2 separate regions of the Homo sapiens genome follow, and region 2 is linked to region 1. The links are contacts of gene promoters, found by promoter capture Hi-C in human tissues and cell types (Jung and others, 2019). All regions are on one chromosome and are shown on one strand. The core of a region is centred on a gene start or on the middle of the fragment in contact, and the rest is flanking DNA. Distances in the headings are between cores, read along the strand shown.

Evidence for each region. The method cuts DNA at HindIII sites, captures the fragments that hold promoters and counts their contacts. A contact is called where the count stands out against the background at its distance.
Region 2: a contact is called between the fragment with the promoter of ACTR1B here and a fragment that was not itself captured in region 1, in 5 of the 25 tissues and cell types used here (adrenal gland, dorsolateral prefrontal cortex, heart right ventricle and 2 more).

What each region holds. Positions count from the first base shown.
Region 1 is chr2:97,589,327-97,595,588 of GRCh38, forward strand. It overlaps ANKRD36B (ankyrin repeat domain 36B), which reads right to left and starts at 551. Exons shown (of 44, transcript NM_001393939.1): 1 at 199-551. The coding sequence starts at 359. RefSeq lists an enhancer at 703-1,203 and a silencer at 996-1,185. The HindIII fragment of the contact is 9,129 bases long and covers 1-6,262 here.
Region 2 is chr2:97,661,204-97,667,465 of GRCh38, forward strand. ACTR1B (actin related protein 1B) reads right to left here and starts at 2,841. Exons shown (of 11, transcript NM_005735.4): 1 at 2,640-2,841; 2 at 679-743. The coding sequence starts at 2,687. It overlaps LOC124900516 (U4 spliceosomal RNA), which reads right to left and starts at 3,528; the gene lies at 3,388-3,528. It also overlaps a transcript of C2orf92 not described here and the pseudogene RNU4-8P. RefSeq lists enhancers at 1,303-1,944, 1,910-1,979, 3,020-3,359 and silencers at 2,340-2,399, 2,480-2,939. The HindIII fragment of the contact is 10,185 bases long and covers 1-6,262 here.

The DNA of each region.
Region 1 (6,262 bases), core at 1,042-3,541:
CACTCCACACCCCGCCACCCCATATACCGCCACTCCCCAGGCCCCGCTCCACTCACTCCCACCCCAGCCAGGCACCCCCTAGCCCCCGTCCATACCCCGAGCCCCGGACCATCCGCCCCGCAGCCCTCAGCCTGCAAAGGGGTACTTCTCCACATCCACAGGCCTCCTCCCGCAGCCCCGGCTCCCGGCCCCCATTACCTTTCCTTCCTGTCTCTCTTATTGGCGTCATAATACGTGAGCAGAAGGTACTTCAGTTTCTCCAGATTACCACGTAAGACAGCTCTGTGGATCCTCTTCAGATGATACGGTTTAATGTAGTAATGGGGAAATGCGAAGCCATCCGAGCACAAGCGCTCCATGAGGGTGGGCCACCTCTCCCGCTCGTCGTCTTCCTTAATCGTCGGCTGCAAATTGTAGCCTGCAGCCGTATTTCAGCTCGCCTTCGGGGATCGCCGCCTCCGAAGAGCAACAACAGGCAAAGCAGTCTGTGCACGGACCTCCGCGCAGACTCTCAGCGCCTCCCGCCTCTCCGCAGAAACGCCCAACAGAAGGGTTAGAACCAGCGAGCACGCGCACCTTAGCCGGCCCTGCCCAACAGGCCCGAGGCAGAGAAACCGCCCTAGCAGCTCTCGCGCGCCCGGTGCAGGCGGCGGTTGCTGCGGAGGTGCCGCGGGAGGGCGGGGCTCCCTGGAGCGCGAGGCGCGCCCTGCCCCAGGGCCTGTTTAACTGTCGCCCGCGCGCTCTTCTCTTCCACAGGCTCCCGACGCTCGGAGCCCCCCGCGCTGGGCCCTCTGCAGCCCAGGGATGGGGTTGAGTGGTGCTTCTCCGCCTAGTGCCACCGCTGGGCCCACAGCCCGACATCGCCACTGCGTCGCCCCCGGGGTCCGCGCTGATGGGTGCGAGGCGGGAGGACGGTATCCGGGGTTGCCACAGCTGCAGCCAGCGCACCACTTGCAGGCGGCACTGCAGCTCGGGCTCCGGCGGGGGCTGGCGGGGCTCCCGTGGGATGGCCTCCTGAGCCCTGAGTGCGCCGCCATCCGGCCGGAGGGTGCGCGCCTCCTGCACCCCCGGCCGAAGCCCATGCCCGGCGCTCCTGCCGCAGACTGCCTGACTTGCCGCGGCCAGGCTGGCCCCGGGGTCCGCGCGGCTGGAGGCGCAGGCCTGGTCGGGGATTCCCAATCCTCGGGGACCCCTGCTCCATGTGCTGGTGGCGGCTGCAGCTGCAGCGCCCGTGGGCTGACGTGGCTTCCCGGAGCTGCGGCCGGCCGCGCCCAAAGGCCCCATAGGCTGCGCTGCCCTTGCCAGCTGCTCCTGACCCACGCCCAGAGCGCAGGACCTGGCGCTTGGCACTCCGCAGCCACCGGGATGAGGCTGAGCGCCGGTTTTCGGCCTCGTGGCGCCGCTGGGGCCACAGCCTGACTTCACCACCCCGTCGCCCAAGTCCTGTGATGGGCAGGTGTGAGGAGGGGCAATCGGGGTTCCCAAGGCTGCTGCTGCCTGCATGCCACTCCGTGAGGAAGTTGAAATACGTGATCTCTAAGAGTCCTCCCAGTTCTTCACCTAAGACAAATATAAATCAAGTAACATTCGCTATTGTGATTAGAAAAGCTGCATTTACAGACGTTAGCCACTAGATGGGGACGTGCGATTGTTACAGGGCTGAAGGCCTATTTATTTTTTATTTGGCCGCTAGAGGGCACGCCTGCACTGCACTTAAAGTTGACTACTTTTAAGGAAAGACAAAAGAATTCTTGGATTTCTCCATTTTCCTCATCACCTGTGCTTATCAGAGAATTCCAGGGGCAAGCTACCCTTTCCAATTCATCACTAATTTATAAACAAAATTCTAAGGAGTAAGGAATGCTTCTTACTTCCTATAACATATGTAAGAATGAACGCTCAAAATAAAAGTAATTTATTTAAAACTTGTGTTGAGTAATTATAACTGCAAAATTTTTGCCCATGTTTTTCATATGCTGTTCATTTGCAAATTATTAGAAATCTACATATTCTGTTCATCTCAGCATTATTTATAACAGGGAAAAATTAGACACTAGCCAAAAATCTAAAAACAGGGAACAGTAAGGAAAAAGCAAATGGTTCTTTAATCATCATCACTAAAAGTGGTTGTGACTTAAAATAATGACATAAAAGATGCTTCTCCGCTGTTGAGTAAAACATCAGGATAAATTTAAAATTCTATTTCAAGCTTAACTATATTCATTTAAAAAGAGAAAAGAAATTTTAGAGAGTTTATCTTGTTGGATTATCAGATGTTATTTTTCTCTTTTTAATGCCATATACTTTTCAAATTTTCAGTGGGCTGCTATTACTTTTGTATTTAAAAAAGAAAAATATAAGGAAAAAGAAACCTGTCACACACTTTCTAGTGGATTTTACTGATCAGTCATCTCTGTATTTCTGGCATCACAAACTGAGCCAGAAACTCAGTGCCTCCCATTTCTTTTTTTTTTTTTTTTTTAGACGGAGTCTTGCTCTGTCGCCCAGGCTAGAGTGCAGTGGCTCAAACTTGGCTCGCTGCAACCTCTGCCTCCCAGGTTCAAGTGATTCTTCTGCCTCAGCCTCCCAAATAGCTGGGATTACAGGTGCCCGCCACCACACCCGGCTAATTTTTGTATTTTGGTAGAAACAGGGTTTCACCATCTTGACCAGGCTGGTCTCGACTCCTGACCTTGTGATTCACCGGCCTCGGCCTCCCAAAGTGCTGGGATTAACAGACCTGAGCCACCGCGCCAGGCCAAGTGCCTCCCATTTCTTGTATTCACCTTTAAAACTCCTGCAATGAAGGACTCCCTCCTCCCTCATCTAACCTATTATGTGTGTGGTGAGTTCTGACTATGATATCATTCCTGATGTGAAACCGAAGTCTCTCTCTTCTAAGTCCATCCATTGGTTCAGTTCTGCCTTCTGACAGAGTCCACGCCAGACTTCACATTTCTCCCAATCTTCTTTGTCCTACAAGGGCTTTCTATTCTTCAAGCTAAAGAGATACCAGTGATTCCATTCGTTCATTCAGTTAACATTTAGGGGCCACATCTTGTGCTATGTCCTGAGATTTGCCAATGAGCAGAGCTCAGAGTATTGAAAAGACAAACACATACACCAGGCATTTTACTATGCTGTGTTGTGTGTATGACAGGAGCACACAGGGCATCCAGGCACCAGTGAGAAGGGCCTTTCACCAGACTTGAGAGGTCAGCAAAGGTGCTCTGAGGAAACACCTTCTAAACTGAGAGCTGGAAAGAGTGAGGCAGGAAAGCAGTAAGAGGTAGCGTTCTGAGGAGGAAATCTCCGAGGTGGGACAGGGATGCGTATGGAGAGAATGCCCTTCCCATCCCCACTCTTCATGAAATCTCTACTCTGTCAGGGTCTCTCTGCCCTGTGAGCTGCTTGAGGACAAAGACTGTTTTATAAAAATTTTTATTTCCTCCCTCTGTCTTCCTTAAACACCTAGCCCAGTGCCTGGAACATAAGAAGCCATAATGAATTTTTGTTAGATGAGTGAAGAGTGCTGAGTAGAGCAGAAATGTCACATGCCTCAGTTTAAATATGGGTCATCAGTTTTCTTTCTTTTTTAACATAGAAGTCAAGACTTGATCTCTTACAGCTTCGAGATACCGTTAAAGATATAATCATCCTCATGTATTTGAGCTTTGTTTTCACCCATTATGTTATGACTGCTGTCCATTGTTCCATGACACAATTCTCCATCTTTCTTCATTTTCTTCCATTTCAATTAACTCATTTATTTACATGTGGGAATGGAACATATAACGTAAAATCCACAAGTAAGACTTCCCAGATCCTCAGCTTCTTTCTCTGGCATTAGCCACTGTTTCTACTTTCATGAGCATCTGCTATGGTTTGAATGTATCCCCTCCAGAAATCAAATATTACAAATGTGATAGTATTAAGAGGTGGGGCCTTTTGGGAGGTGATTAGGCTATGAGGGCTCTGCCTTCATGAATAGGATTAGATATGCTTAGAAAAAGGAATGATGGAGGAAGTTAGACTCCTTTTGCCCTTCAGTCTCCTGCCATGTGAGGACACAGCACTCCTCCTCTCTGGAAGATGCAGCCTTCAAGGCGACATCTTGGAAACAGAGACCAGACACTCACCTGACAATGAATCTAATGGCCCCTGGATTTTGGACTTCCCAGCCTCCAGAACTGTGGAAAAAACAAATTTCTGTTCTTTATAAATTACTCAGTCTATGGTATTCTTTTATAGCAGCCCAAAACAGACAAGACTCTAGGAAATCAATTTGTATTCAGCACATCAACAAAATTCTTTACAAATGGGACCCCCCAATAGGTGGGTGTCACTAAAGAGAGGTGCCCATAAGCATGAGACAATGACCACGTGGCATGAGCAACGAACTACGATGAATGAGCACATGTTACCACCACTAAAGAAAAAACTTACATGACTAGATGACAACAAAATAATTTCTTATAATGAATTTCTCATTGTATTTTTTCTTAACCTTCCCTCCATTTAGTCAGGAATCTGGCTCTGACTCACACCTGAAGGACAGACAAGGACTTTTGTTTCCAAAAGCATAAACTGAAAGGAGAACTCGCAGAGTCTACAGAAAAGAGAAAAGACATTTGTCAACAGGGAGTGTTTATTTATCTTTTTTAACTGGAGGGAAAGAGCAGGGATGAGGAGAGGAGATGCCTTCGGTATTGGAGAAAAACAATATTGTAGAGTTTTCCATCCTGGTACTAATAAAATTATAAAGGCCAATAAGAAATGACTGATAGCAATAAAACAAGGAAAGGGGCATAGCCTAATACAGTAAAGAAACTGGTGACTCAAAGAGAGAAAGGAAAAGAACATTCTGGAGCAAAATAGAGAGGGACAGCATTTAGCTCCTAAGTTCCTCTTCCGTCCTCCAGCCCCACCCTCCACATCCACCTCCAAATCCGGTGATTTTGAGCATAGTGAAGCACACTGACACTGAAGGGTGTCCTTATACGATCCTCCCCTTGCTGGTGACTGGTGGAAACAGATGCTGGGGAGAAACAGGAGAAACAAGGTGGAGGGACATCAGGGTGCACTTCCTCTAAGAGAAGTCAAGGCTACACATGGAATGAGGAAAGCAATCCAATGCCCAGGGGAGTCCTCATGGTACTGAAACAGGAAGAGCCATCTGTTGCCCAAGCATTCTAACCAATGCTCAGAGCCCTCAGCTGCCCTTTCCCTCTACTGCCTCCCCATTCCCTTGGGCTACCAGGAAAAGTGGAGATGTTAATGGGCTCCAATCAAAGGCCACCATGAACACACCTGTAGTTGAAGAAGTGAGTTATTACTGGTTAAGTGAGGGAGAATACAAACTACAGGGAACGGTGGGGTGTCTCACTAAGAGGACAACAGAAAGGACTTAGAAGATTTGGGGTTGTGTTAGGCAATAATCTGGGAGAAGGGTTTAAGGAAATGGGGCTTCGTTCTGAATTGGGTGTTGTCACGAAGTGGGGGTAATTCTAGCATAGTAGGGTATCTTAATAAATCTTATGTGGAAAGATGTAAACCTGCATTAAAGCCTTAATGGGTTAAGGCTATAATTGGTAAAGAACGTTAAAGCTGTAGTTGGTGAAGAAACAGTAGTTACTCATCTTAGCTAGAATAGAGACACATTGGTCATTTGTGTGATATGAACAATGCTCATGCTTTGCTCATGCTCAGACATGATTATGAAGAGGTCTTGTTTTTGTCTTAAGTATTGGCACAAAATGATATGGTCTGAAGCAGATGTTCTATGGAATTGTTTATGCTCACAAGAGAACATCAACATCCATCTGTGGGTGCCAGGCAGCTCACAGCATCGCCAATGCCCAGCAGATAGGACCAGGTCAACTCCTGGCTGCCAGACACACCTCTTCTCTTTCTCAGAGGAACACAAAGTACCCAATGCTCATTCTGTAGCTCAACAGGAAAACACATTCTCAGGTGAGCTGGAAAGAAAGTCGCTCATCTAATAATGACACAATTTTAAAAGACTGGTCAATTCAACTACATCAAAGACAAACAAAACAAAATTTTTTGCATGGCAAGAAAAGACTACCACCACAGTCAGAAAACAAATGAAAGAGTGGGAAAATAGGTTTGCAACTTATATCATAGACAAAGGGGTGCTATCTCTAATATACAAATAGTTCTTACAAATTTAGGGGAAATAGACCAACAATATATTGAAAAAATTAAAAAGATACACAGAGAGATTTCATAGGAAAATAAT
Region 2 (6,262 bases), core at 1,591-4,090, 72 kb after region 1:
GACAGGGCGCACCATGCTAGCTCTGTCCCAGACCAGGCCGGGCTCGGGCTAGCCTGCCACTCGGGGCCTAGGATCCCCTGCTGCCCGCTGCCTTTAGGCCACTCATTCCAAAGCCTCCAGGATTTGTGAAGAGGTGCCCCTAAGGGCAACTTTCCCAATGGGCTCGTGGTGGGTGCAAGGGGCACCCCAGGCTCTCTGGGTTTGCAATTCTTATTCCCGCCCCCACCAGTACCATACAGGGCAAAGGATCCCCTCTTAACTGAAACAAGACATTTTCTAGAGTCTGAAAACAAGCCCGGCAGAAAACACTTCCAGGGAGGAAAGGGTGGCTGTGCATCTAATTCCTCACTCTTCCTGCTCCGAGTTTAGGGCTCCCCTCGGAGATGTCTCCCTTTATTCTTGCTGCTGCTACCACACCCCATCCCCAGGGAAATGCTGGTTGCTTTTCCTCCTTGCTGGCTCAACAAGACCAAAACGAGAGACTCCCAAGACAAAGGGGAACCCTAGAACGCTTGTCTTGTTCTTTCAGTGCTCTCTCAAGAGTGTCAACCTCACAAATTTGGTGTTTTCCATACAGGTCAGGGCACAAATTGTCTTCAAAGAGCCCTGTGACAGAAGGCCAATGTTCTTACAGAAGGTAAACAAAAGGACTAAGGCTGCTGCCTGAGCCACACTTACTAGTTTGGGAAACAGTATTTGGGAATCTGGTCTCCTGCAAAGCCAGCTTTAATCACCCCCGAACCCTGCAAGGAAAAACAAAGTTGAGCTGCCCACATGCACCACCAGATGAAGCCAGTCCCCCGCAATGGAGAGAGCTGGCTGCCCCGTCAAGGCAGGCCAAGGAGGAAGCCAGGGACCCTGCCAGGATCATTTACAAGTACACCTATGGTTCAAGATTGGGGGCAATTTTGTATCCCCCTGCTCTGGCAACATTTGGCAATGTCTGGCAGCTGGGGAGAGGGGACATGCAGTGGGGGATGCTATTGGCATCTAGTGGGCAGAGGCCAAGGATGCTGCTCAACATCCTACGATGCACAGGCGAGCCTGCACTACCAACAAGGAGCTAGCCCAGAATGTCAATAATATAGAGATAGAGAAACCACGAAGGGCACCTTCCTCTGCACAACTAATGGTTGGCTCCAGCAGGATTCCATAGCACATGCTACTCCCAAAAGCTAGAAGAAACCCCTCTGTGTGGGTCTTTTTTTTTTTTTTTCAACAGCTTCCTTCTCCCCCAAGAACCCAGAAGGCATGGAACATGGACGACCTACAGGGCCTGCTGGAGAAGACCAATGGGTGCATGGGATGACCGGCAGCTTCCCTCAAGTGGCTTCCCAGAGACTACTAGGAGAACTTGGTCCTATCGCTGCCCCCACCTGGAAGCTGGACTTAAGGATCCCCCAAAGAACGGGGCAATTAGAAACCTCCCACCCAGCGAAGGGATAAGCTTCTCAACTCAGTCCCACCACTCTTCATCGCAACCCTCTGAGTCTGCAGCAGAAACAAACATCTCCAAGTTACAGAGGAGGGGATGGAATCCCCAAGGGGCCGAGCGGTAGCCCTTTTAACTTATAAGCCTGTTGATTAGCCTATACGAGTTATTTGCACGTCAAGAAAGGAAGTAGCCTGCTCCTTCCTGCAGCGTCCTGCTGGTGTGACAGCACGTCCCCAAGCTCAGTGCTAACCTCCTTATTAAACATCCCCTGCTGTGACTCAGGGAACCCACATGGGTACTCTAAAACAGTCATTCAGGGACCCCACGGGGTCATGTGGGAGGGAGACAGATCCCAGAAAGAGCACAAGTGAGTCATTACCAAAAACTCCAAGGCCCGCACACCGGACGCACATACCCAGCTAGGGGCAGACTCAAAGATCCCAGCCCTTATCTTCTCCCCATATCAGAGCTCGGAAGCCAGAAATCTTCCTAAGGCAGGTGAAAGCAAGCCGAGCCCCACTGCTGAAGGACAAAGCCACAGGAAGCCTGATGACATCTTTCCTCTGAGGCTTCCAAACGATCACCCCAAATTGCTTGCTGATACTGGGAAGAGTGGCCATGAACTCTCCATTGCTCTGCTGGCTGTGGAATGTTTGCTCAGCACAGGAAGCATTTAAGGAGAAAGTCAAAGTAGCCAAAAGGCAAACCAGATGGTGGTGGACATGTGGGTGACAGAGCATCCTGCATTTGTTGCCTCGGGGTGCAGCCCCAAAGATAAAGCCAGCAGTGTGCAAATGACAAATGCTACCCCACCTCCGCCAGGCAGCCAGAGCCAGGGCCGAAGGACGCGGAAAGGAACTGGTGTGGAAACCTGCCCAGGAACCGCACTCTCAACTGAGAAGAGTCCGGGGCGCGTCCCCGCCCGGCCGCCCGGCTGTCACTCAAGCTCTCCTGAACTTCCCCGCCCGACTCGGGGAGGGGTCGGGGAAGAGGCTCTGCGACGCGGGCGAGGGGGCTCGCCCCATGGCCGGCCTTACAAGGCCAAGAGGGCGCGCGCCCCCGGGGCGAAGCCAGCGGCCCGGCGGGGGCGACGGCCACGCAGTGAGCGGAGGACGCGCCGAGGCGGGCGGGGGTCTCTCCCTGCGCCGCCGCGTGCGCCCCCGGGGGCGGGGCGCCCGCCCTCCCCCTGGCTGCCGGGCCTCACGTTGTCGATGACCACAGGCTGGTTGGCGATGATGTCGTAGGACTCCATGGCCGGGCCGCGCCGGCCCTGCCCAGCAGGCGGGCTGCAGGAGGCACCGGATGGGCGGGCGGGCGGGAGGACCGGGACGGCGGCGGCTCCCGACGCGGCGCCGCTGCCCTCCCTCCCCGAGCCTGCAGCCTACGCGAGCCCCGCGGGGCTTTCTGGAGGGCGGGCCCGGCGGCCAATCATCGCTCCCACCTGGCCCGATTGACAGCAGGTGCCCGGGGCTGGCTGCGCGAAGGGGGCGGGGCCTCCGGAGGCTGGCCAGCCAATTGAGGTCGTCCGGAAAAAAGTGGTCGCGGCGTTGCCAAGGTAGGCTGCGCAGTGTCTGGGATGATGTCATGGCTCCGTCTTAAAGGGGACGCGGGCGGCAGAAAGTGGAGCTGGGCTGGTGTGCGCGCGGCCGGAGTCTGTGGAGCTGGAAATTCACCGGTCCAGGAAGACGTCTTTCCCGCGTCCCAGCACCGGTCCAGAAAGACGTCTTTCCCGCGTCCCAGCACCTCGGGCCACGCTCCTTCGTGAGAGCGCCCTCTCCAAGGAGGCCGGCCCTGGATATTTCACCCAAAATATTTATTTTTTCTTTTTTTCTAGGTAAGGTGTCTTGCTCTGTCGCTCAGGCTGGAAATCTTGGGCTCAAGCGATCCTCCCGCGCCAGCCAGTAGGGGGGACTACAGGCGCGCACCATATTTATTTATTTTTACTGAAATAGTCTCCGTAGAGACTGTTAAAAATTGCCGATGTCGACTATATTGCAAGTCGTCACGGTGGGGTATTGCGAAAAGTTTTCAATTAGCAATAATCGCGCTTCGGATAAACCTCATTGGCCACCATACGGCCACCGCGCAACGCTAGCTAATTAAAAAAAATTTTTTTTGTAGAGAAGGGATCTCGCTATGTTCCCCGGGCTAGCCTCGAACTCCTGAGCTTAAGCGATCCTCCCGCTTAGTCTTTCCAAAGCGTTGGGATTACAGGCGTCAGCTATTGCGCACGGCCCCATAATATTTCCTCGTTGAGCACTGAAGAAAAGATCCTTTTCCTTATAAAAATTACAGTTTCGTGGTATTTTGGTCCTGGCATTTATTGAGCACCTGCTCTGTGCCTGCGGAGCACTTCTGCCCACTTTACATAAGTTATATTAAATCCTTGCAACAATATCAGGTAGTTGTATTATTACTCCCATTTTTCAGTCAGGGTCTTCACACTTTGGTAACCTGCCCAAGATTATTGGGTGTGGAATTGGCATGCAGGTAGCCCCCTGCGGCACTGGAGTCAGCTGCTTCAAGAGTGCAGGATAGTTGAGTTCTACATTTGTTTACCAAACGGATCCATAGTTATTTCCCTGTATATATACCTCTCCCAATGGGTTGTGAGCATAAAATTTGTAAAATTGAAGCGGGTGTGCAGAAATCACAAGTGTACATGTACATTTCAATGAATGATTAAAATGTGGACACACTTGCATAACCACCGAGTTCAAGAAACAATATTGTTGCTGGAAAAGGGGTCCCGATCCAGACCCCAAGGGAGGGTTATTGGATCTTGCCCAGAAGAAATTCAAGGCAAGTTGCAGAGTGCAGTGAGAAGCGATTGTTTATTGAAAGCTACTCAGTTACAGAGTAGGCCATCCTCAGAAAGCAAGAGGGGGAACACACCCTCTTTATATTAAACTCTTCTTATAGAGGGGTCTTATCTATGTAAAAACTAAGCTATGTCTACATGAGGGTGGGCTGACAGCATAACAAAATTTAGTGCTTTTTGATTTAAAGAAAGTTATCCTTGGCATTTTAATGCATAAATACATCAAAGCATGACTCTCTCTCTCTCTCTCTCTCTCTCTCTCTCTCTCTCTCTCTCTCTATATATATATATATATATATATATATATATATATATTTTGTTTTGTTTTGTTTTTTTGAGACAGGGTCTCACCTTGTTGCCCAAGCTGGAGTGCAGTTGCCTGATATCAGCTCACTGCAACCTCCACCTCCCAGGCTCAAGCTATCCTCCTGCCTCAGCCTTCCAAGTAGCTGGGACCACAGGTGTGCACCATCACGCCCAGGTAATTTTTTTGTATTTTTAGTAGAGACCGGGTTTTGCTATGTTGCCCAGGCTGGTCTCGAACTCCTGAGCTCAAGCAGTCCACCCACTTTGGACTCCCAAAGTGCTGGGATTACAGGTGTGAGCCATCGAGTCCTGTAACTATAACTATCTTAAATCATATATTGTTAGGCAATATTGGAGCATCTGGACATTTTGTTGTTGTAGGATTTTGTCCTTGCAGGCATTACTAAACTGCTCTTTTAGCCATAGCATCTTATGACCATGGGTTGGGACTAGCAAGGAATGTGCCTTGCTAGTTTTAAGATGGAGTTGGGGCCGGGCGCGGTGGCTTATGCCTGTAATCCCAGCACTTTGGAAGGCCGAGGCGGGCAGATCACGAGGTCAGGAGATTGAGACCATCCTGGCTAACACGGTGAAACCCTGTCTTTACTAAAAATACAAAAAAGTAGCTGGGCGTGGTGGCATGCGTCTGTTGTCCCAGCTACTCAGGAGGCTGGGGTAGGAGAATCGCTTGAACCCAGGAGGCGGAGGTTGCAGTGAGCCGAGATCGCGCCACCAGCCTGGGCGACAGAGTGAGACTCCGTCTCAAAAAAAAAAAAAAAAAAAAAGATGGGGTTGAGATGGGCACGGTAGCTCATGCGTGTAATCCCAGTACTTGTGGAGGCTGAAGTGGGTGGATTGCTTGAGCCCAGGAATTTGAGACCAGCCTGGACAACATGGCAAAACCCTGTCTCTACAAAAAATACAAAAATTAGCCGGGCATGATGTTGTGCGCCTGTAGTGCCAGCTACTCCAGAGGCTGAGGTGGGAGGTTGGCTTGAGCCCGGGAGATGGAGGTTGCGGTGAGCCCAGATCGCACCATTGCACTCCAGCCTGGGTGACAGAGCCAGACTCTGTCTCAAAAAAAAAAAAAAAAAAAAAAGCAGTTGATTTTAAAATGGTGTCACCCTGTCTCTCCTAGGCTCCTGTTTTCCTAATAGCATGAACAGCCCCCCCGTCAGCTCCTACCCCTTGGTCTCTGACCTGTTCCTCCTCCGAGGTGACCTCTATCCTGAATTTTGAAAACATATTAGTATTGCCTGTTTCTGGACTTTGTGCAGATGAAGTCATTGGTATGTATTCATTTGCATCTAGTGTTTATACATTCATAAAATAGATCACTGTGTAGCCATTAAAAATAATGAGAGAGTGCTATATAATTTCATATGAAACATATCAGGACACATTGCTAAGTAAAAGCAAAGAGAAAGCAGACACCGAGTGTAGACTGTTATATGCATGAATGTCTCTGAACAGTATATGAGGCACCTTCAGGTCTCTTTTTTATTTTTTTTTTTTTTGAGACAATCTTTCTCTGTTGCCCAGGCTGGAGTGCAGTGGCGCAATCTGGGCTCACTGCAACCTCCACCTGTCGGGTTCAGGCAATTCTCCTGGCTCAGCCTCCCTAGTAGCTGGGATCACAGGTTCCCGCCACCATGCCCAGCTAAGTTTTTTTTTTTTTTTTTTTTGAGATGGAGTCTCAC